6 separate regions of the Homo sapiens genome follow, and regions 1, 2, 4, 5 and 6 are each linked to region 3. Evidence: promoter capture Hi-C in 16 types of primary human blood cells and fetal thymus (Javierre and others, 2016). All regions are on one chromosome and are shown on one strand. Each heading gives the region's core, a stretch centred on a gene start or on the middle of the fragment in contact. The rest is flanking DNA. Distances are from core to core; before and after follow the strand shown.

Region 1 (4,640 bases), core at 150-2,649, 1.4 Mb after region 3:
TTATCTATCTCCAGAGCCAGCTTCTTATTCACCATCTACATTTCCACTCAAATGGCCCACAGGCATCTCACACACAACATGTACCAAGCTGCATTCACCATGCCTCACATGTTCCAATATTGGTGGCTTTTCCCTCTTATCCATCCAATTTCCTTGTGAATAGTTTTCTTCTTCTTTCTCAGCCCTACATGTTACCTGTCTCTAAGTTGTGTTCCATCAGTTCTAGTATGTAAATTGACTCTATTGCCTAAATTCAGGCCCTCATCCCTTCACGTCTGAATAATTGCCATGTTTTCCTACCTGGAATCCCTCCCTGTTCCTACTTTTTATAGCTTTAAGAGATAATTAATTTTTTTAAAAAAGAAGGAATCAGACGATGTTCATTCTGTTTGTTTTAAATTCTTCCATGGTTCCCCAAAGCTTTTAGGATAAAGTTCAAATTTCTTTGTTTATTAATTTTTTTAAAACTTTATCTTGCTTTTGTGCTTCATCATGTTAATATTTCTTGCCATTTTTCCTAACACTTATTTTGCCCAATCATGGGGAACTTCTGGTAGGTCCTCAAACGCCAGGGTCTACCAAAGCTCATTGCACTTGTAAATGCTGATTTTTCTGTTCATCTCTCCTTGCTCTGGCTAACTTCCTCTTAAACTTGTCTCAGCTCAGGTGTCATCTTTTGCAGAAATATATTTTTCTTGATGCCTGTGGTTTATTTTGGTGCTTCGTCTGTAATTCCAGAGCACCTGGTACCTATTTCTGCCAATCAATTAACTCTCCACATCATGATTCTCAACTTTACTTTGCCTCCAAATACCTAGAGCCAGGGTGGCAAACAGCAGCCCAGTGACCAAAGTCATCCTGCCACTTGTTTTTGTAAATAAAGTTTTATTGGAACAGAAGCATGCCCATTCAGTGTGCTCTATGGCTGATTTTGGATAAAAAGAGCAGAGTTTAATTGTTGTAACAGAGTCTATGTATCCCCCAAAGCTAAAATATTTACTATTTGACCTTTTGCAGAAAATGTTTGCAGTCCCCTTTCATCTATTACTGTGCATCACTATTACAAAATTCTTAGCCAGAGATGCCAGACCCTGAGGGAGAAAGTGGATCAAGATCTTGCAGAGGAGGAGTGTCAAGGGAAAACTAGAGTTGGATGATTCAGATACATACCCTAGGGGATCATGTTCCTTCCCTACACCACGGACAATCATTCCATGTGTCCTTATGAAATATTTCTTATATATCATGAGACAGAGACTGTATGTTTTTTAATCTTTTGGCTTACATGCCTAACATGGTGACAGACTATTAGAAGTAAAAATAAGCCAGAAAACAACCCCCAAAAGCCAAGCTCACACCAAAAGAATTTTTTGAAGGATACTGGGATATAATCAGGGGGTCTAAGAAAGAGGTGAACACCCAGTTCTTGAAAAGACACAGCAATGATGTGGAGTAATGATTGTTATCAGGATCCAGCCTCTGTCTTGTGTCTCTGCTGTTTCTCATCATGTCAGCTTCATCTTTCCCTTTCACCGTGGACTTCCTCTAGCTGGCAAAAATCACGGCCCATCACAGTTCCTGAGTTTTTCATTTTATAGTTTTCAGTCATTGATGAGCCTTTATCCTGACTTTGTCTTAGTCCCATATTCCAAAATACTAAGTCAGTTTACCATTGATGTGGTCAAGGAAGAGGGGTTAGGTGAGAAAACAGAAATGTTAGTGATACTTATGGATAGACTAAAGATAGAGGATGAGCCAAGAACGAAAGAGGTACTGTTCCCAGAATAAGGGAGAGCTACATAGACAAGGCAGTAGGTGTCCCCATGGTAGCTCCTGGTAGATGCCCCCCAACAGTAGCACTTAGGAGGTGCTTAACTGATGTATGTTGACTCAATAAATAAAGAAAGAAATTAACCTCTTTGAGCCTCTTCTGTGAGATGAGAATAGCATCTACCTCACAGGCTTGTACTGACGATAGAGCACTAACCACAGTGCTTGACAGGCGTAGATATTCAGTAAATGCAACCTAAATATCCTAGCACTCATCTGGGTTGGAATTGCAAAGGGAAATTAAGGGAGAATTTATTACAGCAGATTATCTTTTAAAATTCAATCAGCATGATTATCCAATAAAATTTTAATCAAACTCTATGTCCCATCTTGTCTTCTAATCAGACTTAAGTCAACATAAATATTAGCCCAGGACTCTCACTTGGCTCAGTCTGAGTTGGCGCATTCCCTAAGGGAAACTGTAGGGTGTCAGAAGAAAGCCCCGATTTGTACCTATAAGAGACTATATTTACTTGTTCAGAAGACGAACAGAAACTGGAGATTAAGAACCCTCGGTCTACTAGATCAATGTCTACTGTTTCACGAGTTAAGCTTTAGCTTCCCTGTTAACCAGACTAGCTCACACAACATATACCCACCTGAACTATTAATGTGTGCATTTTCTTGGATGTGCCTCCTTCCTTTGGACAGTATTGCTCTTTGTCTCATATTTAAAATGCCTTCCTCTGCCCTGTTACCTTCATCTGCATAACTCCTCAACCTTCAGGGTCTCCTCTGGCTCCATAATTTTACTGACCCATCCCCATCAGCTTTGAAAAATCATAATTCAAGTTTTTCCAAGACCTGATACAGAACACTTTGGCACAAGCCAGGTACCTGGGTCCTTCTACTCTAATTCCCTAACCAAACTCTTTCTTCTAAACTCATACTGAGAAATGCTAAAGATTTCCAATAAAATTTCTTTTCATGGCTCAGTGGTTTGTAGAAACCGTTTATAGTTTACAAAGCTCTCTACAACTCTCTGATGTTGGTGTTATTAAGGACATCCCACTCCTGATCAGAATTTCTAATTGATCGATAATTTGGGGAGATGAGACTTGATTTTACTGAGAATAGTGTCCTAAATCTTTCGTTAAGGAGGCTTTTTTCAATGGTATGTCTCAGTGCTAGAAGAAACTCTAAAGCTTACTCATGATGTTGGTCCTGAAAAGCACCTGAATCTTCTCTATATGGCCCTCAGATGGAATGTAATCTGTACTGAAATTTATGGCTTCTGAATTGACTTCCAGAGGAATATCCATTTCTCCACCCTACCATATTAGACATCTCCCACTATTAGCTCTTTTTCATGCATTGAGGCACACTTTGCCCCCCTGCTAACTTACCATAATGAGCCTCTCTCATATCCATTAGAGAGAATCTAAGTTCCTCTTCTACATATGAGTTTGAGTAGGTATGTGGTAGGTATGTGGGGTCAAGATAGCATCTCCCTCATTTTCCCTTTTCTATCCCCAACAACCTTGGGAACTTCAACTGCTGGTTTTGAGTCTACTTTGCTTTTTCTCAGGATATATTCTGGTCTACCAGTTTTACTGTTTTAAATTCTTAAATTTAGCAAGCTGATTTTCTTTGAAGCCTACGGAATAGAGGGTGTCAAAAATGTCCTTCCGACATAATAATTACTAAGTATATAGAGATTAGAAGCTTACTTTGGATATAGAGACTTTCTAAATTGGAAACATTTTTTGAAGACAGGAAATTCAGCCTAAGTAAAACCTAGTGTGTCCACTGGGGCATGTTGGGTTTGGGGAGGGAAAGTATCAGGAAAAATAGCTAATGCATGCTGGGGTTAATACCTAGGCGATGGGTTGACAGGTGCAGCAAACCACCATGATACATGTTTACCTATGTAACAAACCTGCACATCCTGCACATGTACCTAGGAACTGAAAATTCAACAACAACAACAACAAAAACACTGAAAAACAAAGACACTGTTCTACCAGAAACAAAACAAAACAAAACAAAAAAACTAGTGTGTCGATATTCACAATTGTTTTGGTTTATTCTTAAAAGCAGTATGAGATCATTATGATGACCACATAAATGAAAAACAGTAACAGTCATTCTGGCCTTCTAGTACCTTGAAGATGTCCAGTTACTTCAAAGCCTTTGAATGTGCTTTCCCCCTTCCCCCACCCTGGGAATATTGTCTGCAACCCCAACCCTCCAAATTTTGGTCTGCCAACTTTTCATACTTCAAATCTCTGAAAAGCTTTTTCTTAATTATCTTGTTGCCCCCGACCCCAGTCCTAATCTAAATTGGGTCACCCATCATAATTTTGTAACCTGCCTTTAAATTTTTCTTATGGCAAATATACAAATTTTAATGGTATATTTAGTGATATGATTATTTAGTGTCTGTCTTTTCCATTAGACTATTAATTTTGGGAAGCAATTCTGTCTGCCTTGTTTACTGTGGAATCCCCAGTGCCTGGCAGAGAGGCTGGTTTGTGTTGGTTGTTCACATAATGTTTCCTGGATGATTGCATGAATGAATAAATGACTATTACATTTGTAATAAATGTAATAAATGATTGTCACACACTGTTTTTCTTCTTCTTTGCTTACATTTGTATATGACCTTGTGTTTTTCAAAGAATTTTCATGTTTCTGTAGTTTTAGGTAGATAAGACTAATTATTACTGTCCCAATTTCCATCTGATGAACCTAGGGCCCAGAAAAATGAAAAGACTAACACAAATTCACATACCTGGTGATGTGTGAAGCTGCAGTCAGAGCCGAGACTACATGTTTACTCTTAGACTAGTGTTCTCTCCTTTAGTAAT
Region 2 (4,672 bases), core at 1,855-4,354, 1.4 Mb after region 3:
GAGAGCTATAAATTAAAACCATAATGAGACTCATTTTACACCCATCAGATTGGTAAAAATGAGAAAGTCAGATGGTATCATTGTTGGCACAGATGTGAAAAAATGAGAATCCTCATGCACTGCTGGTGGGAGTGGAAACTGGTGAGCCATTCTGGAGGGCAATCTGTTGGAAGTATATGTATATATATACCCCTTGACCCAGAAATTCCCGGAGGGAAACCTATGCAGGGTCACATGTGACATATACAAGGATATAGCTATCTAGATGAAATAGCATTACAGTTTGGGTAGGGAGGTGTTGCTTTATGGAAATGTTCAGAAAGAAATGGAGCACAGTGAACCCAGAGCTGGCTCTCTGTAGGCTTATATTCTTTGCTGAATCTTCAGTAAGAAGAAAGCAAAGGTTACTTCCATTCCACCCCAGTCCTAGGCATTGTCAAGGCCCAGGTACACCCTTGTTCCTGGCACTCTCCAAACTTTCAGGGCCCTGTTGTGAAATTCTCTGGGAAGTTAAATACATGAATGATGTTAGAAATTGAAAGGAGCATTTTAAAAAATGAGGGTTACCACAAGATGAGGGCAACGTTTAACTGAAAGGGGAAAATGATACAATATAGGTTTCAGTGATAGCTAAACAACAGAAATCTGTGACATCACTGAGTGCAGACACTTAGAGGCCCCAACAGAAATTTGGAGACCTCTTTAGATCTTTCCTTCTGTGTAGTGAAAAGAAAGCAATTTCATAAGAGAACATGACAGTGAACATTTCTATTGAAAACCACAAAGTTTTTGCAATTTTAGCAGAAGTCTAGTTTTGAAGATCAAATCATTGAGAGAGAATGTACACTTGTTTTTTTGTCATTTACTGAAAGCCAGAAAAATAGGTGAAGCTTGTCTTAATTCAGATGGCACCTTGGAAAGGAGATCATTCTGATATCTTCTTCTCACTCCTATTTTTTTTTTTGACTTTTCAAAGAGCAACAGAACATTGGAGCTAGAAGTAGCCTCTAAAGTTAAGTAACACAGCTCCAGTCTGCTATGGAATTCTTCCTACAAACATGCATTTCCTTATATGTAAACCTCAAGAATCTACTGGAACCAGACCATTGATCCATTACTTTAAGATACATTACTCCTTCCTTAAGGGAGTTATGTAAGCTCTTTCTATAGAGGCTATGCCTGGAAAGCTGCCTCCCTGACACCCTAGGGCCAGGTTATAACTCTTGGACCTAGCTTGCCTCCACTAAACTCCAAATTTGGGGGTTACATTTTTTATAAGTCATGTTTTCTCTTGAATGGCCTCATTGTGGTAGATGAAAGAAACGAATTTTAATGAAAGTGAATTAATCTTAATGAAAATTAAATAGACTTTTATGACTCCTTAGACATTTAGGAAAACAGCGAAATATTGAACTTCTATCCCTTCTTTAGCCATCCTCCTAGTTATTTACAGGTATTCCCAGAGGTATACATGATGGACAAATAAGCCTCCTCAGTTTTGGTTGCCAAAATGTTTGTTTCCCTGGTAGTTTCATCACTGTTGCTGCTGGTGGTATTCCCCATGGATGGTGCCAAGAGAGTTATACCAAGGGTTCTGTCTTCTCTTGCTCTCAAAATACCACCTCAGGCCATTGCTTGGCTTCCTGCTGTGGCTAAGGCTCTTGGCATCTCTCAGTGGGAGCACAATGCCATTCTGTCCACCATTAAGAGTACTGCTGTTCTTGCCCCCTGATACTGGTGCTACTTCTGCTCATATCTTCTGCAATGGAAAAAACCCCTTTCTCCCAACCTTGTACCATTGTCTGTTACACTGGTCCCACAGTGGTATGATCCCTTACTCTCAAAGTCTTAAAGAAACGATGGGTAAAACATTCCATCCAGGTTGTTTTCTTTCCCCATGATTTGGGCACAAGTCCCTAGGGACTGAGCCACGAGATGAGTCAAAGGGTGGTCCTCAGTGTCATTCTTCCTCTATTGCTCAGAGGCACTTTTCAGGCATCTCTGCCTGGGCTTTGGCAGCTATTCCTTAGATTGACTTACTTCCCAAGAGGCTCCTCAAGCCTGTTCAGCCCTGGTCGCCCCTCCACAGTCTTCTGGTCTTTCCCTGACTGTTTCCATTTTAGGCTGAGAGCACCTGCATCTTGAACCAGGGTGCCTTTGCACTTTAGCCTGGATAACATCACAGCTCTAGATTTGGTGAAAGGAAACAGAATCAGGGAACCCCTGAGCCACAGCCATTTTAGGATGTCGCTAGGCTCCTCTACTTCCTCTTTCCTTATTGCTCCCAATTCTTTGCTTCCTTCTTGCTAAGTTGGAAGGAGCCCACCTCCCCCTAGAAAGAGGATCATTTCATAAGCTGGATTCTCATGTAGCATGGTCATTGCATTCCTTAAACTCACCTCTAGGTCCCAAATGATAAACTAAAAGCTGCTTGAGTTATTCAAGTAACAGGAAAAATATAGTATTGCAACTAAGAATCTGAACTTTGAAATCAGAGAGTCTCGGATTCAAATCCTGGCTCTTCCCTTTCTGGCTGTATGCTTTGGGCAGATTATTTAACAACTCTGAGCCTCTTTAGCACGTACTTCACAGGACTATTGTGATTAAGTAAGCACTCAATGTGTGGGAGATATTATTGTTTCTAATTAGGGAGCAAAGCAAAACTGCACATGGGGCATGGGCAAGGCACTCATGGCTTCCCTTCTCACCCCATGTGGGGAGGTGGAACAAGCTTCCTAGTCTTAGCCCTTTACTCAGATGCCAGCAATTTTCTGCCATGTTACCTGGTGATGGGGCCCTCTGGTGGCAGGAGAGAATGTGATTTCTTTTTGAGAGACCAGCTTGCCCTTAGATCTGCTTTCAAGTGGAGGCGAAGGGTTGGGGAAAACCCCAGCAGATTCTGAAACTGCCATGCACAAAGGCCTCAGACTCAGATGCTGAGCTGTCCCTGTTGCTGCAGAACTGTTTATTTCCTTAGGATGTTGAACGTAAAATATACAACTAGACACTGCCTTCTCTTGCTCTCAAAATACCATCTCAGGCCATTGCTTGAGCCTCACCCAATAATTTGGATTCTGATATGAAAATCAACTTCCCTACCTCCAGCCTTAGGATGCTTCTGTATTGTTAATGCCAATGTTAGCAGCTTGTTTCTGAATCATTGGGGAGCTCTGTAAACACATGTTGATGGGAATTGACCTATCTTCTTAAGGTTAGGTCCTTAAGAAGCCCTAAACATTGAACAATGAAAATATCCTCAATTTTAGAAATTAAAAAAAAATCTGAAATTATAAAACAAGTATTAAAAAGTCAAAGAAAGATAAACTTTTAGCTATAATGACAACCTTAACGTCCTTTTTTGAACTATCAAGAATATATTTCTTTTCCAATTTCAGCTTTTTTGGTTAATTTTATTTTTCTAGTATCTTACCTTGTGTTTTATCCCTCTTTGGGTCATCCTGATCTGCTAGGTGTATAATAAGCTTTATGTCAGAGGTGAGTAAAATATTGATAACATTTTCTATCTATAAGATGTTTAATAATTTATAGGTTACTTAGGTATCTGTTATGTTTCAAAAATCTCATGCCAATCCTGGTTAATTATGGATTTTCAAGAAATACTTTTTGAATGAAGAGGAAGGAGGAAGACGTTGTATCTTCAGATGAACAAATAGAGTCCTGGAGAGGTTGTGTGGATCTCTGGGCTAGCAGGGGTCAGAGTTGGCTCACCAACCCAGGTCTTCTCACTGCTTCTTTATATTGTATCTCAGCTGCTTGAGGCATACTTGATGATCCCTCATGAAAATGAACTCAATCATGCTTGAAGAAAAGTATGCTACACAATGGAAAGCTAAATAGTTTCTTTAGGCATTGAGATAAATCATCATATAACAACATGTAATCTGCTAAGGCTGGGAGGAACCTTATTTTATGGATGAGGAAACTGAGGTCCATAGGAAGGAAGAGCTACAAGCAGGAGGTTGCGTGGTGGCTCACCAGAAGAGCTGTCAAGGAAACCCTGGTCTCAACCCAAAGACCTCCATAAAGGAGACAGCTGAAACAAGCTAGAGTAAGCCCGGTGCCTGTCACCGTTTGTAACCAGAGACAATGACCACACTGTTCACCCATTGTTTATTCTCCAAATATTTTGTAAAGCAAAGGAGAACACTATGGGATCTGCTAACTATAAGGCCTTTCTACTTTCACCTTGTTTCACAAGGTCACAATTAAATGGGCCCTGTTCAAAAAATAGAAGGAAAACTATATATAGATTGAATCCAAACCGAAAGATGAATCTAAACCACAAAATATTGGCTTGAACATAGGGCCTCATGGTGCCTGAGTTTTAATAAACATAAAATTCTTTCTTTGGGGAAACAACATGATGGGGATACAGATTAAAGAGTACGGTTTAAAGGGTATTGCAAAGACCCTGAGGCTTGGAATGAGGAGTGTCAGATTGTGGAGATGCTTTCAACACTTCCACTGACTTTCTCTGTGACCTCGTGCAAGATGTTTCTTTCTTAGCCCTCAGTTTTTCCATTCACACAAATGACAAGGTTGGACTGCATATCATGCAGGCCCTTTATGGGATCTGACCTTCTGTGACATTAAGTGTTCTCTTTATTTTTCATATTTTCACCCCTGATGGAAGAACAATTTGTTGACTTAC
Region 3 (4,697 bases), core at 1,473-3,972:
GGACATGCATTAATCCCCACACCTAAATGTCTTGCAAATAAAAGGTATACCAGAACATCAAAGGATGTTCTGTTTTCACAGAGATTAGTAAAGTGGCTTGGCTTTTTTTCTTTTGTTTGATCAGCTGTTAGAAATTAACTTCCTCTAAGCCAACCACATTCAAATGTGTATTATCTAACACAAATATTTTCTATAAAATATTAAGCTCCTCTTAAATGTTTATATGATACTATCAGTTAGTTTATACTACAAGGATTTATATTGAGCATACATATTTATGTTTGGTTTTTATTCCAGTAGCTATGCAGAAATGCAGTTGATAGCTAAAACACACATCCCCCAAAGGATATCTCTTTAGGTCTCAGGAAGTTAAATTAGCAATGTTTACATTCTGTCTTGAGTGATCCCATTTAGCATGTTGTTATAAGACTATCACCTTTACTGAGTGTTTAAGAATAATTTTTGTGTTTTTATTTGACTCCCATATTGATAGAATTAAGAGAAGACTTGAGATATCTCCTTCAGCTATTTCATAATTATGATTTTGAGCTCCAATACCTGCAATATAGATAGCACTCAGTGAGGTAAGCCAATATGCATTTCTTGCAACCTATAGTACTTCCAGAAGGAATCTTATAATAAAAGTGATATTTCTCCCTGAGAAAAAATATCTTAAAAGCTTGCTTTTAAAACAGTCATTTAGCACTGTTCAATTAGAGAGGATTGTCAAAGAAGACACAAAAGCAATGGTATTTCTCTAGATAAATGTTTACAAACTAGAAACAAATTCAGAACCTCATTTTAGCTATTTAAGTCAGATTTTTTCTCAACCACCAAATGACTTTGTTCCTTCCATCTTTTCATATGTTATGTATTTTACATATCAACCTGGTAGATAGTTGGATTTTTCAGCCTAACTATTCACACACACTCATTTCAATAGTCCAACATATAATTTAGGTGTACTTAATATGTAATTAATGTTTATGTCAGCCTCTCCCAGTAATTATCATTGAATTAAAGTTTGAATGCATAGAGTTATGTGAAATTATTTCTGTTTAAAATGACTCATGTTATAATAGTTATCATTTAAAATGTAAACTTTATTGCCACCGAGAATTTTAAATAGATGTTTGTGAACATTGGAGTACCTATCTCAAATAACTTTACTGAAACCGCCACTCAAGCTTATTATGTATTATTGAACAAAAAGATTTACTCAATAGAAACCAAATTCACATTTTTCATAATTTCACCATAATTTTATTTTGTATTTACAGTTTTCAGTTTCTAATGCAAGGGTCTCGCTGAAGACTTGGAGGATTAGGGAAGAGAGATGGGGTGTGGGGGCGAGGGATCAGAGGTCTGATATGGACAATACTAGTTAAGAAAGCTAACAGGATGTGAAAGTCTTCCAGAAGAAATTCTTGCAGCCAGCTTTGCGTTCTCGGGGTGCCATAGCCGGGTTTGAGTTAGCAGATCTCTGCAGCTCAAGCCTCATTTCATCCTGCTCAGCAGCCTGGGACAGATCTTCAGGTTCCAGGGCATCATTCTCCGTCTGGTTGGGTTCAGACAGCAGCTCTGCCAAGAAGTACTTGGCCAGTTCCTGTATAGGGCAGAAGGGATAGAAAAAGAGAGAAAGAGAAGTGGGGAGGACAATGGAAAAAATTTGAAAAGCCTAAATTAAAGAACAGATTTGGTCACACACAAAATCCAGTTTTTACAGCTGCGCATTTTTTGTCACATTTAAAATCAATCAAGGATATAAAAATAAGGATAGTTGCTATAATTACCAAGTTACACAAAAAGGCTTTAAGAGCTCAAATGTTTCTGCAACCTTTCTGTCCCTGTAGACTTAACACACACACACACACACACACACGCACAAACACACACACACACACACACACACACATAAAGACCGTTCTGGTAAGATAAAGTGTGTGCCAACAGTTTAATTCAATTTTCACATCACGAGCTACAAAGTAGAATTGTTTTACCATTTTTACCAAGTAAACTGTAGGGGAACGAGACTTCTCACAATCTCAAACATACGGCGTTCGGTCTTTAGATTGCCCCTTTGCCCTAGTCCCGACGTTTGGAAGTGAGGTACGCTAAGAGGTAGCAGCTTCAGAGGTCTGCGTTTCAGCACCTGGGTCAGCGCTTCCCAGGGTCAGCACCAGGGATAGACGCCATTGTCGCTTCGTGCCCAGACAACTACCCAGATTTTGTAATTTTCTTGAATGCCAAGTAAGAACTCACCTGAACTGTGACCGACTGCGCTTATCATGGGGGAAAAAAAGAGTTAGAAGGGGATTCTAGCCTTTGATAGTTTTCTCAAGAGCTTCGGGAGCTGAGGGACCCAGAAAAGCACCAAAACTCTTTAGAAGGACTGAGCATCCCTTACGTCCAAACCAATGGGGCAGGAGCAAGGCTTAGGGAGGGCTGGAGAATCCGGGAGACGTCGAGGGAGTCTCCTTACCTGCTTCCCCGCGGCAGCAGCCAGGGACTTCTGCAGAAACTGACGGAGTCTGGGGTCCGAGGGAGCGCCGGTGACACAGCCCAGGGCCAGGACGATGGACAGCGCAGCCAGCGCGCACTGGAGGCGGCAGGACAGCATCTCGGCGCCGCGAAAGCCGAGCTGGAGAGTGGCTGGTCAAACTCTAGGCGCGGATCAGCAGGCAGCAGCGATGGCTCCGAACCTCGCTCCTAAAGCGGCTTGTGTGCTCTCAACCGTCTCCCTCTGTTTTAAACTCTCTCTCTGACGTCAGGCTAGGAGGCGCCCCCAGATCTCACCAGCCCTTTTACGCACCATTAGCCTCGCAAAATCAATCACAGAAGACAGGGGAGGTGACAAGATCTAAAGTGGCTTACTTAAAAAAAAAAAAATACTGCACACGCACAGGCACACACAATTCCACATGCCCCACGATTTATACAATCTTTTATTTTCACTCAGTGCTATGAGCATACACATTCCACAATTTCACTCCCACACATGCACACTCAATTACACACAAACAGAGGCTCAAACACTCAGCTCTTAAAGAGCAAATACACTATCACCCTTAAATGCACACAAATGTACCCAGACAACTCCATCTGTCATCATACTCTAACATTTTAGGAAGGCCCAACAAGCAACAGGGCATGTGTATGGTAGGTGGAGATCAGAATCATTCCTCTAATAACAGATTTGAGAATGAAATATGGACAGTAGAAGGACTGAGCCCTCTTTATTTCCTCCATTATCTCATAAAAAGCCTTGAAGATGTAACGGGGCTCTAAAAGAACTTCACTTTTCTCTACAATGGGGGAGAAGGTACCTCTGGCTCACCCTCCCTCCCTCTTTCTCAGCAACTGAGACTTCTGATCTACCTGCCTTTCTATTGTGACCATATATATGTATGAGTGTGTGTATATGTACGGGAGGGAAAGAGAGAGAGAGAGATTGAAATGGACTTCATTTTGGTGCTGAGAAATTTAGAGCTGGAAGGCAATCTAAGAAATTATTCAATAAACCTCAGAATTTGAATCAGTAAGGCAGAGTAATGGTCAGTAAATTGTTCTCCTTCACATACTGCACACTTTGAGCAAAACCAGACCTCCACATTCCAAAGCCAGTGTTCCTTCTACTGAGCTCTGAGTTTTCTAACAGATTCCTGGCCGGTAAGCATAGTTTTATGTCAGGAAGCCCCAGTTTAGACATATAAGGTCTAGGAACTCCCAGAACATATGTGACCACTATTGTATATCTATATGTGGAAAGGATCAAAAGATTCTTGGTTAAATTCAGCTCTGCCTGATCTCCTAGAAACAAAGAAAGTTTAAGAAAACCTGTCCTTGAATTCTGATTGAACTCTGGTTAAATGTTTACTGTTCAGGCCAGAGTTCTGACTGCTTTTATCTAAATAGTTCCTTACTGAGGAAGGACCAGCTAATTTCCTAGCATGGACGAGATGATCCCTACAGGATCTTTAAGAGCTGTTATCTTATGAGCTTCAAAAAAGCCAATATTAGCTAAAAAGATATGCTGCATCTCTGGAAACCATGCGAAGCTCATATTAGGTATTAAAATATTCTCAGTACTTAGACCCGAACCACAGTGTTGAGAGGCAGAAGGGTTTGGGAAGTATCCTGAATGGCTTGAATAATTGTCACTATTTCTTTTTGTGCTTGTAATCCAAGGCAAAGCGGAAATGCACAGCAAGAAGTGTTAAAGTTTCCAGGTCTTGACAAGGCCAGCCAAGACTAAGCACAAAGTGGGGCATTAAAAAGTCATTCACATGTGTTGGAGTAGTCTAAGAGATCAATGAATCTGGAGCTGTGGAACCCAGTCCTAGGAAATACATGTTATATTCTCTAAATCTTGCAACTCTCTCTGGCCTCTAAGGACTCAGAGTTTAGTTCTATCACTGTGACTGTCTCTAGGTACCTCCAAATGATCTCATATCTCCTGTACCCAGGATGTGGTCTTTGGCATACCCACTGAGTAGGAAACGAGGATTTTTCCAAAGCAGGAGCCAGCCGAAGAACAAATAGCAGCTCCCCATCTTCCCCTGTGCTCTAGGATCTCTTCTGTCTCCTTCCCCAGACGCTTGCTCCCCTCCTTCCACATCCTTGTGCTCTCCCTCTACACTTTCTCCTCCTTCTTATTCCTCCTTTTCCTTAACCTTTCTGCAAATTTATGTTTCAGA
Region 4 (4,727 bases), core at 1,729-4,228, 1.3 Mb after region 3:
TTTGCAAAATGCATTGTGAGCCAAGTTTGCTTCAAATGTGCTCTGAGTCAGAAAATGGTTACATAGGGGACCCAGAGAGATGGGAGGGGAGGGTAAAGAGCAGCTGCAAGAACATCATATAATAGATATATCAGTTATTGCTCCTTGCTTTGTAATTAGGCTACTCAAGGTAGACGGAGAAATGGAAACAATGCATAATAGGCTCATGTGCGGCAGCGTGAACAGACTCTTCTGCCTCAGAAGTCAAATGCAAAGGGGCCAGCCTGGGACTTGGGGAAGAGAACCCTGGAGAGAGCTTCACTCCTGCTTAACCACCCATGAGCACCAAAGCAGCATCTTTGAAAATCTTTGGGAGACAACAGTAGAGCTTGGTTAGAGAGGCAAAAGTGACGGATAATGAATTAACTCATAAATACTATTAGAGGGTTTATTATAAATTGTTTTTGAAGATTTTAATAGAAACGAAAACCTAGTTTTCAGAGATTAGCTGAAATAAGTCCCAAGAGAAGCTTTGCCAGAAGCCGCTTTTCCTTTTAACTCTCTGTTCTTCCTTTCTCACCCCCCCAGGCAATGGTAGATTCCTAAGAGGACGCCTGTTGTTGGTGAAGCCCATTTTGACTGTGTTCAAGTTTGTTCTTGTATTATTCCATCTGGTGGCTCCCCAAACCGCTTTCTTTTTTTACTCTCCTTGTAAATATTTACATAAGAAGGTTCTTGCAAAGGCAGGATCCTATATTGGTGGATTGGCGCTAAGCAGAGTCTTGACGTGTTTTATTCCTTTTACGAACAATTCGGTTAAGTGGATTCTCTCCCAGCTCATTAAAAAATAGCCTTTTATTTTAATAACACCATCAGAAACTAAATAGCATCAGAGGGGAAAATAAGTTTGCAATGTGCAGCCTCAAGTGGCAATCTCTGAGCCACTGTTAGTGGTTGATGCAAGAATTGGTGATTGTAGTTAGTGGCTAAAATGCAGCATGCATTTAAAGGACTCATCTCCCTAGGCAGAACAAGGATCTGTGGTGTTTTCTGGGACAGCTGAATGCATAAGAGATCAGATAACTGGATCAGGAGATCAAGACTTGGTTCTCAAACTTCAGACTTCAGCTCATCTTGCCTTCCTCCCTGAGGCACTATCTTTGTTTGCTTTCTCTTCGCCGCCCTCCCTCTTGGACAAGTCCATCCTTGCCCACAGCTTTAACTGATACTTCTTTAGAGGGAGCAGTCAAACCTCTCTTTTTAGCTTTAACTTCTCGTTTGAGCCCCAGTTTCTGCATTCCCAGTTTTTCTGGACATTTTAAACAAGATTGCCATCGCAACCCAAACCTGACAGGACCAAAGCCAACCTCAACTCCTTCTGAACCTGGTCCCACTCTTGCTCTTGTGAGTGCTACCTTCCAGCCCCACCCAAACAAGCTTAATCCCAAAATCTGTCACCTTTGCCCCAACCCTGCATCCCCAAATCTAAAGCAGTTGCCAAATGATGTTGATTTTAATACTGCATGAAGACTTGCATTGGTACATCTGTTTCTGTCCTCGCTGTCATTGTCCTAGGCTTCCTTAAGCTCTATACATTTATTCATCCATGTGCTCATTCATTCAACATACGTGTTGATTGGATGGTTCCTGTATACTAGATATCTAGCAGGTGCTGGAAATATAGAAGTGAACAAGACAAAAAGAGAATTTGAACCTGTTCTCACGGGGGAAGATGCACATCAAAAAATTTATGATAAAACTTGTTAAATTTGACCATATAGGAAAAATAAGAGAAGTCACAGGCTTATCTGTCTTCTGATACTACCGAGCCCTGCAGCATGATGTTGCCATGTTCATTTGTCTGACTATGTCACTTTTCTGCTCAAATGCCATCAGTGCCCCTCAATGTTACCTATTTATTTCACAGCATTTATTTACTCATTCATTCATCATTCGTATGTTCTTTTGTTCTCCTTCACACCATGCTCTTCATTGTCTCCATGCTCTTGCTAATGTGGTTCCTTCTGCCCACAGCACTCTCTTTATACCTCACTGCACCCAGCCACTCGTCACTTAGTTAATTGAAGAGACACCTTGATTAATGCAGATGTCAACACTTCAAGGAAGACATCTCCACTCTTCACTGAAGCCTTTCATAACATGCTCACAAGCTTTTTCTCCATCCTTTCATCCCATCCATTAGGTACCCGTTCACTCTTCATACTTCCAGGACAGCATGATAGCATCTGATACCAATTAGTCTGTTCTGTGACACTAACCTTGACATAAACTTAGTGTTTGTAGAAAGTCTTTGAGTTAAAGCCTCCGTTTTCCCTAACACACAGTTTGATTTGACTGACCCCTCTGGCCTTTGTCACTCTGGCGTGGGGGTAGAAACTGTCTCCTTTAAGATACAGTCTACAAGAGCGTCTATTCACTGGGTTTCTTGGTTATTACTGGATTGTGTTAGATTTAAAACATGCGGAAGAGACAGTTTTGGTATGACCATTTATTATGTGACCTGGAATAAAAGGGAAGTGCATTATAAAGTTGGGCAGCAGCATCTTCATAAGAAGTATTCTTGTTTTTCCTAGGAATTTCTTAAAAAAGAGTAGAAGAGGTAGTATTGTTCTGTGTTTCTTTCCTTTTTTCTTCATCCAATTTACAGATGGGAAGAGGAGGTTTAGAGAATTGCAATTTGTACATGTTACAGTGGATTAGAAGAGATGATAGGGTTATTACAAATCAGGCATTATGAAAATAAATTTTGATATTCGATCACTTGCATTTTCATGGCTTCAGTGAAATTTGATTAGTGGTGTTTTGTTCAGTTAGTCTACTGTGTTTTGACTTCTTCATATTTAATGCCCTCTCACCTGACCGTTTCACCTGACCAGCATTCCTGAGAATGCAGAGTGTCAGCTGGGGAGACACAGCGCAGCATCAGAGAGCTGCTGAAAGCTGCTGAGCCACACCTGGCTGCAGCTGGGTTGAAGATGGGTCTGAGTTCTGAGAAAGACTGCATACTCTCCTATTGGAAAGACAGACTTCATTTCGGGAAATATTCAATAAAAAGTTTTGAGACACAGAGTCCCATTCATGGTGAGAGAGATTGAAGGTAGCTGTTTTCCCTCTTAAGGCTTGGCGCAGTCTGTAAGGATACTATTTAATGTAATCAAGAACTGATTATTTTGTTGATCATGTTTCAAAACCCGTGCCCTTTAAACAAGTTCCCAGAGTAAATTGAATGCAATTGTGGGAAGTTTAACTTTTTAAAGGAAATCTTGTTGTATTTTGAGATTGAGGGAGAGGATGATGGGAGAGGGTGACTGGAAACCTGCCCAAGGACTGAAAAATCTAAGAGGATGGGAGGAAGGATGAACAGAGAAGAGAAAGACTAGAATTCTGGGTCAGAAACTCTTACCGAATGAGTCATCCCACAGGACAAATAAAACCTCACTCATCACCCTGTCTTCCCTCTCTGTAGCGAGAGAAGCAAACACTGGGGCCCTGGAAAAACATCAGCAACTTCTTGTAGCATCTGTAGGTGGGGAAGGTTTCCAAGCCACCGAGAGGGCTGTGAACGCAGTTACTGGGGCTCCAGTTTTTCCTCAGCCAAGTAGGAAGAACCTCTAAATTGACCTTGGAAAAACATACTCAATGAAGGAAAAAAATATGGTAAGCTCTCCCTGTGTATTTGTATTAGAGATTTTTTTTTAAAGAAACAAATACATTGCTTTCCAGTTTTCCATGAAAAGAGTTTGAATACTCTCATATTCACAGTGGTAAAATCCTTAGAGTGGGATTTGAAAGGCTGTAGACAGGACTTAAGCTTTGCCCCTCTTTAAGAAGCACAAGGTCATCCACATAGTACAACTGTATTCGTATTAAAAAGCCTAAGGGGGAAAGCATTCTTGCCGCTCCTTTCAGCAAAGATTGAAATTAGCATTTTTATGAAGAGCATAAACTCTCTGCGTATCAAAGATGCACTTTTATTACTCTGAAACTGGCTCGAGTAAGCATCCTGCAAACATTTGGCTCTTTCTCTTCCAGGAGGAGGCCAATTAAAACACAGTCTGTCTAACTGCCAGTCCCTACCCACTCTTCAGTGGGGCAACAACAATACCGAGATGGCAGCGTTGGCGCCTGCAAAAGTGGCTTTTCAGTTATTGGGCACCTGGAGGGAAAATAATGATTTCTTGGCACTCATCACAAAAACAAATTTAAAAAAAACAACAACCAAAAAACAAAAAAAAGAAGGCTTATTTTACTTGCCCCTCCTCCCTCTGATTATGAATTGCGTGGTTCGGACAGACAATTTAACTTGCCACCAATTGTGTCAGCTGTTCTCCCTGTTCTCCCACCTCTGGAGCAATGAGGCTCAAGGGAGAGGGGCAGTTGACTGTGTCTTGGTGGCGCCAGCATGCTTTTACAAGCTGCAATTACCCTCTGGCAGGCAGCCTGTGCCGGTGGGCTGCTCTCTGGAGCAGAGACCCACAGCTGTGCAGTCCCCCTGTGGCTACCAACAAACCTGCCATTTAATGTTGTTTCTTCAGGTATTGTCTCATCTGACCAGTGGTTTTTCTATTACAAGAGGCCTCTCTATCATGGCATGAAGCAGAAAGTGGAAAGGACAGTGTCTGGCTGCTTTTGGAGCCAGAGGCAACAGGCCAGGATTTACCTCACTCGTTTAGATTTACTCATCAGCCAAATGAGTCTTGCTAAAATATTTAGTCTCCATATACGCA
Region 5 (4,386 bases), core at 1,406-3,905, 1.3 Mb after region 3:
CACTTACGAATGGTGAACTGACTGAAGCCCTCCTAAGATGTTAGTTCAGGCAAAAGATCCAAATTTCAGAGCATCACAAGAGACAGCAGATTCCACTGAAACTATTACCTTACTGCTCCTATATATGAGGTGAAGTTTTGTGTGAGAAGGATCAAAGAGATTGTGATCATCTCTAAGCAGTGCAAAAATCTAGTGATGAGCAGGAGGAGAAAATCTAAATAGTTCTGGTAGAGATATAGGGATTAGTAAGTGAGGAGGTTATATGCTGGAGGTTACATTTAGCCTATAAAAACACCATAATCCAGGTTTATTCTACCAATTACTGTGTGGCCTTGAGATCTACATTTTAGCATTTACTAAATGATAGGGAAGAGCAGTTGAGCTCTTAAGCTTCTTCTAGTGCTCGCTTTCTATTTGCCCCAAAGTCAGTCTACACTGAGTGACTGATCAAACTCCACTTCCACCTTGGATTCCATAAACCAGCTAAGAAATAGATACTCTCTTCCTCACCCTTAGCCCCACACCACACCCCCACTGCTCATGACTGGAGGGCATATGTCGATTGGAGGGAAGGATGCGACTGGAAGTCTCTGAGAAGAGCTCTTCTCTTCCCTCAGGGACATGTCTATTCACTGAAGAATGACATAATAAATGGTCAGCTACCTTTAACCTGCCTTCCATGGATTCCCTGAGGAAAAATTAAATTACTGTTCTAATATGCTACAAACGCACAGACTCAAAATGTAAAATATGAAATGAATCTGACAGGTTATGTGGTTTAGCTCCCACACTTGATGGACAGAGAAACTGAGGCTTGAAGAGACGCACCCAAGGAACCTGGCCAAAGACACAGAGACAAGAAGTCTTGGAGCTAGGGCTACAGCCCAGATCTCCACTGCTCCTTGGTGCTCTTTGTTTTTTTTTTTTTTTTTTTTGCTACAAGTTGGAGCTCAGTCCCTGGGTTGCAATGGATAAATCTTTTGCTAGGCAACCCAGTTGCTAAGCTTTGCTCACATCATTCTTGAGCTCAAAAACCTTTATGGATTTCAGCTATTCATTCCTAGTATAGTCATCCTTTGGTATCCTTGAGGGATTGGTTCCAGAATCTTCTGAGGATACCAAAATCCAGGGATGCTCAAGTATCTCATATAAAATGGTGTAGTATTTGCATATAACCTACGCACATCCTCCTATATGCTTTAAATCATTGCTAGATTACTCATAATAATACAGTGTAAATGCTATGTCAATCGTTGTTATACTGTACTATTTAGGGAAGAATGACAAGAAAATCTCTACATGTTCAGTACAAATGCAACCTTCCATTTATTTTTCCAAATATTTTTCATCGACACTTGGTTGAATTCATGGATGTGGAACCTATGGATACAAAGGGCCAATTGTACAAGATTCATTTTGTGTCATTATTTGGGCTCTGCCCATGATATTGCTACTACTTTTTAAAAAAATTTATGAATTCCCTTCTGGAAGACGAGGTAGAAAGTAGACAGGCGATTTTGCTAAGCAGTTTTGACATCTCTCACACACACCTATTTTGGCTAACCTTTTCCTGATTTCTCAGTCCTCAGTAGCTCCTCTGTGCACGTGCCCAGATGTCACATTTCTTAACTTATTTTCTATTTCTTGAGGATAATTTAGTCACTTTTTTCTCTACAGTAAGCAGAGAAGGTAGAGCTGGAAAATGGGGTCTTCATCAGAGTTTAACTAGACTATGAATAGAATTCTGTAAGGCACGGACCAATGAGCTGTCTTTTAGGTCAGTCCAGAAGGACTCAGATTCACACCAAACTTAAGTGGCTGGTGAATGAGGCTCAGATTGTCCTCCCAGTTTCCCACTGCCATCCCCAATCCTGCTCCAAGAGCGCCCTCTGCTGGAATGGAGCAGGAGCCAACATCCTCAGCCATCTTGGAAGTGGGGCCAACTGGAACTCTGAAAGGATGAAAAGTACCTCTGTTTAAATACAAGCTCCAAATAAGACAGATCAAGTCTACAATGTCTTCTTGACTTTTATTTCTCATTCCTTCTATTTCCATTTCTTTGACAACTTTTCTTAAGAGGATCACGATGTGGTGAAAAAATAGAATTTAAAGAGGGGAAATGTAATCCAGTGAAATGGGCATAAAACTAAGAATTCTGCCTTCTTTGAGAGGTTTAATTGCTGGGTTACAAAGAGTAATTTCTTGGAATAACTCAGTTTCTAGTCTCAGATTGTAATTACTCCTTCAGTTAGAAACCTTCTTCCATTCATTGCCTGCTAAATTAAGTCAACATTCTTTACTTAGCTTTCAAGGTATATTTGTATATGAATTTACAAATTCATAATATGTTATTTAGTTTGTACTTCATTTATCAAAGCTAATAGTATCTTTACTTTAAAAAAATTTTACTCTGATCTACTTTTTAGAAATTGAAAAGATATTGAAAACTTTAAAAGTACATTTGAATACCAAAGTCATATGTTTCACATTAAAAATCATGCTCAGCACTTAATCTGCTTATAATTTTGAACAAGTGGAAGACCCTGATTAAATAATTAGCTTTTGAACAGAAACAATAATTGATAGGTTGAATTCTATCTTTAGCACTGATGTTAGTCCTAACTTGTTGTTTAGGATTGAGACAAGGTAAAGCGACATAAAAGATTTGGGGGAGTTGATATAACCTTTAAAGTGTCATTTAGTCAAAGGAAGAAACAGTAGCTAGGAATATACCTATTGAATAAACATAGCAATATGGTAGATTCTAGTCCTAGACCCCTGTTTTACAGCTAGAATTATGCCAAAAAGTTGAAAAGTAAAGCTGGATGAAACCTTAGAGAAGACTCCGCCATCTTATAACTCAGATGGTGAAATGAGACCCAGAAAGAATAGTCTTCCCAAAGGCTCACGGTCAGTTATTATAGGAGCCTCATTTGGAATTTGAGTCATCCAATTCTCAATCCACTGTTCTTACCACTACCCAACACTACCTTTGTTTAACTGTCTTTCTTGCATAAAAAGGGACTTATAGGTGAGAGATTCTATAGTGCCATTGGGAGCTGCTGCCTGAATCTCCGTGTAATTTCAAAGAGTTTCCTAACTCAGACCCTGTCCCATTTCACTGTATCCTTAAGAGGCTGAGAAACGGGGCATTCAGATTCTTTCCCCATGCTGACTCTTCATTCTGTTTACACATGGGCCGGCCAGATGCTAGAGAAAAAAAAACAAACATTTGCAGCTGTTATCAGGGGTAGGATAGAGCACATGAGGTTCCCAAGTTTTGATCCAACACATCAGAACACACTTGATTTTTACTCTGGCTTGGAGTTTACTGCCTTCAGCTTCTTCTACAAAGCCTGAATGTTGCCATTTCATGTCAAAACCTGCACTGAGAGATGCCGATGGCTTCTTGAGCTAACTTCAGCCCATCACCGCAGTGGTCTAGATGACCAAGGAAGTGACTGCTTCATTACAGCTTGAGGGGACCCTCTTTCTTCATCCCCCACTTTCACTTTTTTTTTTTTTTTAAATGAAAAGGCCGATGGTTCTCCCAAGTAGCCAGAGGCCAGCAGGAGCACTAAGTAAGAGACAGCAAGAAGTGTTCTTAGTGAGAACAATGTGGACTTTGGAGTTATGTAAAACCCAATTTTAATCCTGGCCCAGCCATTGACTGGCAGTTTGATTTTGAGTTATTTAAGTTGGAACCTTATTTTTCTTGCTTATTTATTGAACTATTAATTGAAAAAGTGATTCTAGTCCTAGACCCCTATTTGACAGCTAGAGAAATGAGACATGAACTGATACATGCTCAGATAAATACATTTCTTACTCAGAGGATAATAGTCAATGATTAATAGTTTCCACTGAGACATCACAAATAAGAAATAGATTGAAATTACATTTGAAGGATCTAGGTTAGATATCAAAAACTTCCTTGGAAGGGAGCATCATGAAACCTCTATTTCTTAGAAATCTTTAAGAATATAATAGTCACACATGTTGAATGAGTTTAAATGAAGCATTACTTACCAGGATAGACGACCTCTCTAGTTTTTCCCCAGTTAAAAAATCCAAGACTTGGGTTCCTTCTTTCAAGAGGAGTAATGTAAAAAGTCTGACCCCTAGTGGTCATCGTCTCTGCATTGGACCTAAGGGAAAAAGGCCAAAAAGAATGATAACAACCAGACTTTGTTTTGGAATTAAAAACGAACCTTAGAAATGTGAGAGTCAAATTGTCTAATTCTAAAACAAGGGAACTTAGACCAAATGACTACAAATATTTCCCCAACACCAGCGACTCTGGAGTAAAGCTTGTTATGGAACTCAGGACCTTTTGCTGGTGCTCTGGGTTCAAGATCCAATCGCTTCATCTTCCAGAGTCTCCCA
Region 6 (5,038 bases), core at 1,670-4,169, 1.3 Mb after region 3:
TTCTTTGAACAGTTATTTGTAGTTCTCCTTGAAGAGGTCCTTCACTTTCCTTGTTAGCTGTATTCCTAGTTATTTTATTCTTTTTGTAGCAATTGTGAATGGGAGTTCATTTGTGATTTGGCTCTCAGCTTGCCTATTGTTTGTGTATAGGAATACTAGTGATTTTTGCACAGTGATTTTGTATCCTGAGACTTTGTTGAAGTTGTTTATCAGTTTGAAAAGCCTTTGGGCTGAGATGACGGGGTTTTCTAGAGGTAGGATCATGTCATCTGCAAACAAAGTTAATTTAGCTTCCTCTCTTCCTATTTAAATATGCTTTATTTCTTTCTCTTGGCTGATTGCCTTGGCTGGAACTTCCAATACTATGTTGAATAGGAGTAGTGAGACAGAGCAACCTTGTGTTGTGCTGGTTTTCAAGAAGAATGCTTCTAGCATTTGCCCATTCACTGTGATATTGGTTGTGGGTTTGTCATATATGACTTTTATTATTTTGAGGTATGTTCCATTAAAACCTAGTTTATTGAGAGTTTTTAAATGAAGGAATGTTGAATTTTATCTAAGGCCTTTTCTGCATTTGAGATAATCATGTGGTTTTTGTCTTTAAGTATGTGATGAATTATGTTTATTAATTTGTGTATGCTGAACGAGTCTTGCATCCCAGGGATGAAGCCTACTTGATAATGGTGGATAAGCTTTTTGATGTGCTGCTGGATTTGGTTTTGCCAGTATTTTGTTTTCAATTTTTCAGAATAGTTTCAGTAGGAATGATACCAGCTCTTCTTTGTACATCTGGTATAATTCAGCTGTGAATCTGCCTGGTCCTGGACTTTTTTGGTTGGTAGGCTATTTATTACTGACTCAATTTCAGAACTCATTATTGGTCTATTCATGGATTCAATTTCTTTCTGGTTCATTCTTGGGAGGGTGTATATGTCCAGCAATTTATTCATTTCTTCTAAATTTTCTATTTTATGTGCATAGGGATGTTTATAATATCCTCTGATAGTTGTTTTTATTTCTCTAGGGTCAGTGGTAATATCCCCCTTATCATTTCTGATTGTGTTTTTTGAATCTTCTCTCTTTTCTTCTTTGTTAGTCTAGCTAGTGGTCTATTTTATTAATTTTTCAAAAAATCAGTTCCTGGATTTGTTGATTTCTTGAAGGATTTTTCATATCTCTACGAAGGAGATAGAAATATCTTTTGTATTTCTATCTCCTTCAGTTCAGCTCTAATCTTGGTTATTTCTTGCCTTCTGCTAGCTTTGGGGTTTGTTTGCTCTTGATTCACTAGTTCTTTTAGTGATGTTAGGTTGTTATCTTGAGATCTTTCTAGCTTTTTGATGTGGGCATTTGGTGATATAAATTTCCCTCTTTTCACTGCTTTAGCTGAGTCTCAGAGATTCTGGTACTTTGTATCTTTGTTCTCACTGGTTTCAAAAAACCTTCTTGATTTCTACCTTAATTTCATTATTTACCCTAAATTCATTCAGGAGCAGGTTGTTCAATTTCCATGTAGTTGTATGGTTTTAAGTAAATTTCTTAATCTTGAGTTCTAATTTGATTGTGCTGTGGTCCAGGAGACTGCTTGTTATGATTTCAGTTCTTTTGCATTTGCTGAGGAGTGTTTCACTTTCAATTATGTGATCATTTTTTTGAGTAAGTGCTATGTGGCAATAAGAAGAATGTATATTCTGTTGTTTTGGGTCAAAGGGTTCTGTAGATATCTATCAGGTCCACCTGATCCAGAGCTGAGTTCAGGTCCTGAAAATCCCTGTTATTTTCTGTCTTGATGATTTGTTTAATATTGTCAGTAGGGTGTTAAAGTATCCCACTATTATTGTGTGGGATTTGAGGTCTCTTTGAAGTTTTCTAAGAACTTGCTTTATGAATCTGGGTGCTCCTGTATTTGGTGCATAAATATTTAGGGTAGTTAGCTCTATGCTACATATATATGAACCCTCTACCCTTATATATTGCCCTTCTTTGTCTTTTTTTGACTTTTGTTGATTTAAAGCCTGTTTTGTCAGAAACTAAGATTGCAACCCCTGCTTTTTAATTTTTTCATCCATCCCTTAATTTTGAGCCTGTGATGTTCTTACCTGTGAAATGGATCTCTTGAAGATAGCATTGCAGTGGGTGTTGGTTCTTTATCCAGCTTGCCACTCTGTCTTTTCATTGGGGGCCCATGTCGTCTTCTTACATTTAAGGTTAGTATTGTTATGTGTGAATTTGATCCTGCCATCATGATGCTAGCTGGTTACTTTGCAGACTTGTTTATGTGGTTGTTTCATAGTGTCACTAGTCTGTGTACTTCAGTGTGTTTTTGTAATGGCTGCTAATAGTTTTTCTTGTCCATATTTAGTGTTTCTTTCAGAAGGTGTTGTAAGGCAGGTCTAGTGGTAACGAATTGCCTCAGGATTTGCTTGTCTGAACAGGATCTTATTTATTTCTCCTTCACTTATGAAGCTTAGTTTGGCTGGATATGAAATTCTTGGTTGATATTTTTTTCCTTTAAGAAAGTTGAATACTGGCCCCCTATCTCTTCTGGCTTGTAGGGTTTCCACTGAAAGGCCTACTGTTAGTCTACTGGGCCCCCACTGTAGGTGACTTGGCCTTTCTCTCTCACTGCCCTTAACATTTTTTCTTTTATTTCGACCTTGGTGAATGTGATGATGATGTGTCTTGGGGTAATCTTCTCATGGACTGTTATAATGTATGATATGGTTTGGCTCTGTGTTCCCACCTAAATCTCATTTTGAATTAGAATTCCCACATTTCATGGGAGGGGCCTGGTGCAAGGTGACTGAATCATGGGGGAAATCTTCTCCCTTGCTGTTCTCATGATTGTGAGGGAGTTCTCACAAGATATTGTCATTTGAAAGTGTGTGGCACTTCCCCCTTTGCTTTCTCTTTCTCCTGCTCCACCAGGGGAAGATGTGCCTTGTTTCCCCTTTGCCTTCCACTATGATTGTAGGTTCCCTGAGGAGCCCCAGTCATGCTTCCTGTTAAGCCTGGAGAACTGAGTCAACTAAATGCCTTTTCTTCATAAATTACTCAGTCTCAGGTAGTACTTTATAGCAGTGAGAAAATGGAATACTACAGAAAATTGGTACCAGGATAGTGGGGCACTGTTATAAAGATACTTGAAAATGTAAAAAGAACTTTGGAACTGGTTAGCAAGTAGAGGTTGGAACAGTTTGGAGGGGTCAGAAGAAGATAAGATGACGCAGGAAAGTTTGGAACTTCCTTGAGATTTTTTTGAATAATTTTGACCAAAATGGTAATAGTGATATGGACAAGAAAGTCCAGGGCGAGGTGTTCTCAGGTGGAGATGAAGAACTTATTGGGAACTGGAGTAAATGTTATTCTTGCTAAGCTTTAGGAAAAGACTGGTGGCATTGTGCCCCTGTTCTAGGGATCTGTGGAACTTTGAACCTGGGAGAGATGATTTAGTGTATCTGGTGGAAGAAATTTCTAAGCAGTAAAACATTCAAGATGTGGCATGGCTGCTTGTAACTGTGTACAGTTATATGCATTCACAAAGAGATGGTCTGAAATTGAAACTTATGTTTAAAAGGTAAACAGAGCATCAAAGTTTGGAAAATTTGCAGCCCAACTATATGGTAGAGAAGAAAAAAACATTTTCTGGAAGAAATTAAAGCTGCTTGCAGAAATTTGCATAAGTAAAGAGGAGCCAAATGTTAATAGCCAAGACAATGGGGAAAATGCCCCCAGTGCATGTCACAGACCTTCGTGACAGCCCCTCCCATCCCAGTCCTGGAGGCTTAAGAGGAAAAAATGGTTTCATAAGCCAGGCCCAGGGCCCTGCTGCTCTTTGCAGCCTTGAGACATGGTGCCCTGTGTCCCAGCTACTCCTGCTTAAGCTGTGGCTAAAAGGGGCCAGGATACAGCTTGGGCCATTGCTTCAGAGGGTGCAAGCCCCCCAGACCTTGGTGGTTTCTATGTGGTGTTGGGCCTGCAGGCACACAGAAGGTAAGAGTTGAGGTTTGGGAACCTCCACTTAGATTTCAGAGGATTTATGGAAACAAATGGATGTCTAGGCAGAAGTTTACTGTAGGCACAGATCCCTCATGGAGAGCCTGTACAAAGTCAGTACAGAGGGGAAATGTGGAGTTGGAGCCCCCACACAGAGTCTCCACTAAGACACTGCCTAGTGGAGCTGTGAGAAGAAGGCTACCATCCTCCAGACCCCAGAATGGTAGATCCAATAACAGCTTGCACCGTGTACCTGGAAAAGCTGCAGGCACTCAATAACAGCCTGTGAAAGCAGCCAAGAGGCCTGTACCCTGTAGAGCCACAGGGGTCGAGATGCCCAAGGCCTTGGGAACCCATCCCTGGCATCAATGTGGCCTTGATGTGAGACATGGAGTCAAAGGAGATTATTTTGGAACTTTAAGATTTAAAGACTGCCCTGCTGGGTTTCAGAATTGCTTGGGGCCTGTAGCACCTTTATTTTGGCCAATTCCTTCCATTTGGAATGGGAGTATTTACCCAATAATTGTGCTGCCATTGTATTTTGGAAGTAACTAAGTATGTCCCTTCTGTATATGAGCCTCTTTTTGATTTTATAGGCTCATAAACAGAAGGGACATACTTTGTCTCAGATAAGACTTTGGATTGTGGACTTTTGAGTTAATGTTGGAATCAGTTAAGACATTGGGGGACTGTTGGAAAGGCATGACTGGTTTTGAAATGTGAGAAGGACATGAGATTCGGGAGGGGCTGGGATGGAGTGATATGATTGTGCTCTGTGACCCCACCCAAATCTCATTTCAAATTTTAATCCTCATGTGTTTGGTGAGGGACCAGGTGGGAGGTAATTGAATTATGGGGGTGGACTCCTATCTTGCTATTCTTGTAATAGTGAGTGAGTTCTCATGAGATCTGGTTTTATGAAAGTGTGTGGCACTTCCCCCTTCATGCTCTCTTTCTCCTGCTCTGCCATGGGAAGATGTCCCTTGCTTCCCCTTCACCTTCTGCCATGATAGTAAGTTTCCTGAGGCCCCCCAGTCATGCT

What was found. Contacts are between HindIII fragments. The CHiCAGO score rates a contact against its expected background, and 5 or more counts as called.
Region 1: a contact is called between a fragment that was not itself captured here and the fragment with the promoter of SST in region 3, in 1 of 17 cell types (fetal thymus). The highest score is 5.7, in fetal thymus.
Region 2: a contact is called between a fragment that was not itself captured here and the fragment with the promoter of SST in region 3, in 4 of 17 cell types (total B cells, endothelial precursors, monocytes and 1 more). The highest score is 7.4, in total B cells.
Region 4: a contact is called between a fragment that was not itself captured here and the fragment with the promoter of SST in region 3, in 1 of 17 cell types (total B cells). The highest score is 5.0, in total B cells.
Region 5: a fragment that was not itself captured here is called in contact with the fragment with the promoter of SST in region 3 in 2 of 17 cell types (total B cells and neutrophils); the score reaches 5.8 in total B cells.
Region 6: a contact is called between a fragment that was not itself captured here and the fragment with the promoter of SST in region 3, in 1 of 17 cell types (total B cells). The highest score is 6.9, in total B cells.

Annotation. Positions count from the first base shown.
Region 1 is chr3:189,102,308-189,106,947 of GRCh38, forward strand. It overlaps a transcript of TPRG1 not described here. Among named protein-coding and RNA genes, the nearest start is that of TPRG1, 67 kb to the right of the region's middle. The HindIII fragment of the contact is 1,962 bases long and covers 419-2,380 here.
Region 2 is chr3:189,038,889-189,043,560 of GRCh38, forward strand. It overlaps a transcript of TPRG1 not described here. Among named protein-coding and RNA genes, the nearest start is that of TPRG1-AS1, 94 kb to the left of the region's middle. The HindIII fragment of the contact is 751 bases long and covers 2,730-3,480 here.
Region 3 is chr3:187,667,672-187,672,368 of GRCh38, forward strand. It overlaps SST (somatostatin), which reads right to left and starts at 2,723. Exons shown (of 2, transcript NM_001048.4): 1 at 2,483-2,723; 2 at 1,241-1,606. The coding sequence starts at 2,620. The coding sequence ends at 1,394. The HindIII fragment of the contact is 4,322 bases long and covers 1,186-4,697 here.
Region 4 is chr3:188,975,488-188,980,214 of GRCh38, forward strand. No RefSeq gene overlaps it. Among named protein-coding and RNA genes, the nearest start is that of TPRG1-AS1, 30 kb to the left of the region's middle. The HindIII fragment of the contact is 1,661 bases long and covers 2,149-3,809 here.
Region 5 is chr3:188,952,911-188,957,296 of GRCh38, forward strand. No RefSeq gene overlaps it. Among named protein-coding and RNA genes, the nearest start is that of TPRG1-AS1, 7.5 kb to the left of the region's middle. RefSeq lists silencers at 1,630-1,924, 4,290-4,386 and an enhancer at 4,240-4,386. The HindIII fragment of the contact is 3,306 bases long and covers 1,003-4,308 here.
Region 6 is chr3:189,011,803-189,016,840 of GRCh38, forward strand. It overlaps a transcript of TPRG1 not described here. Among named protein-coding and RNA genes, the nearest start is that of TPRG1-AS1, 67 kb to the left of the region's middle. The HindIII fragment of the contact is 910 bases long and covers 2,465-3,374 here.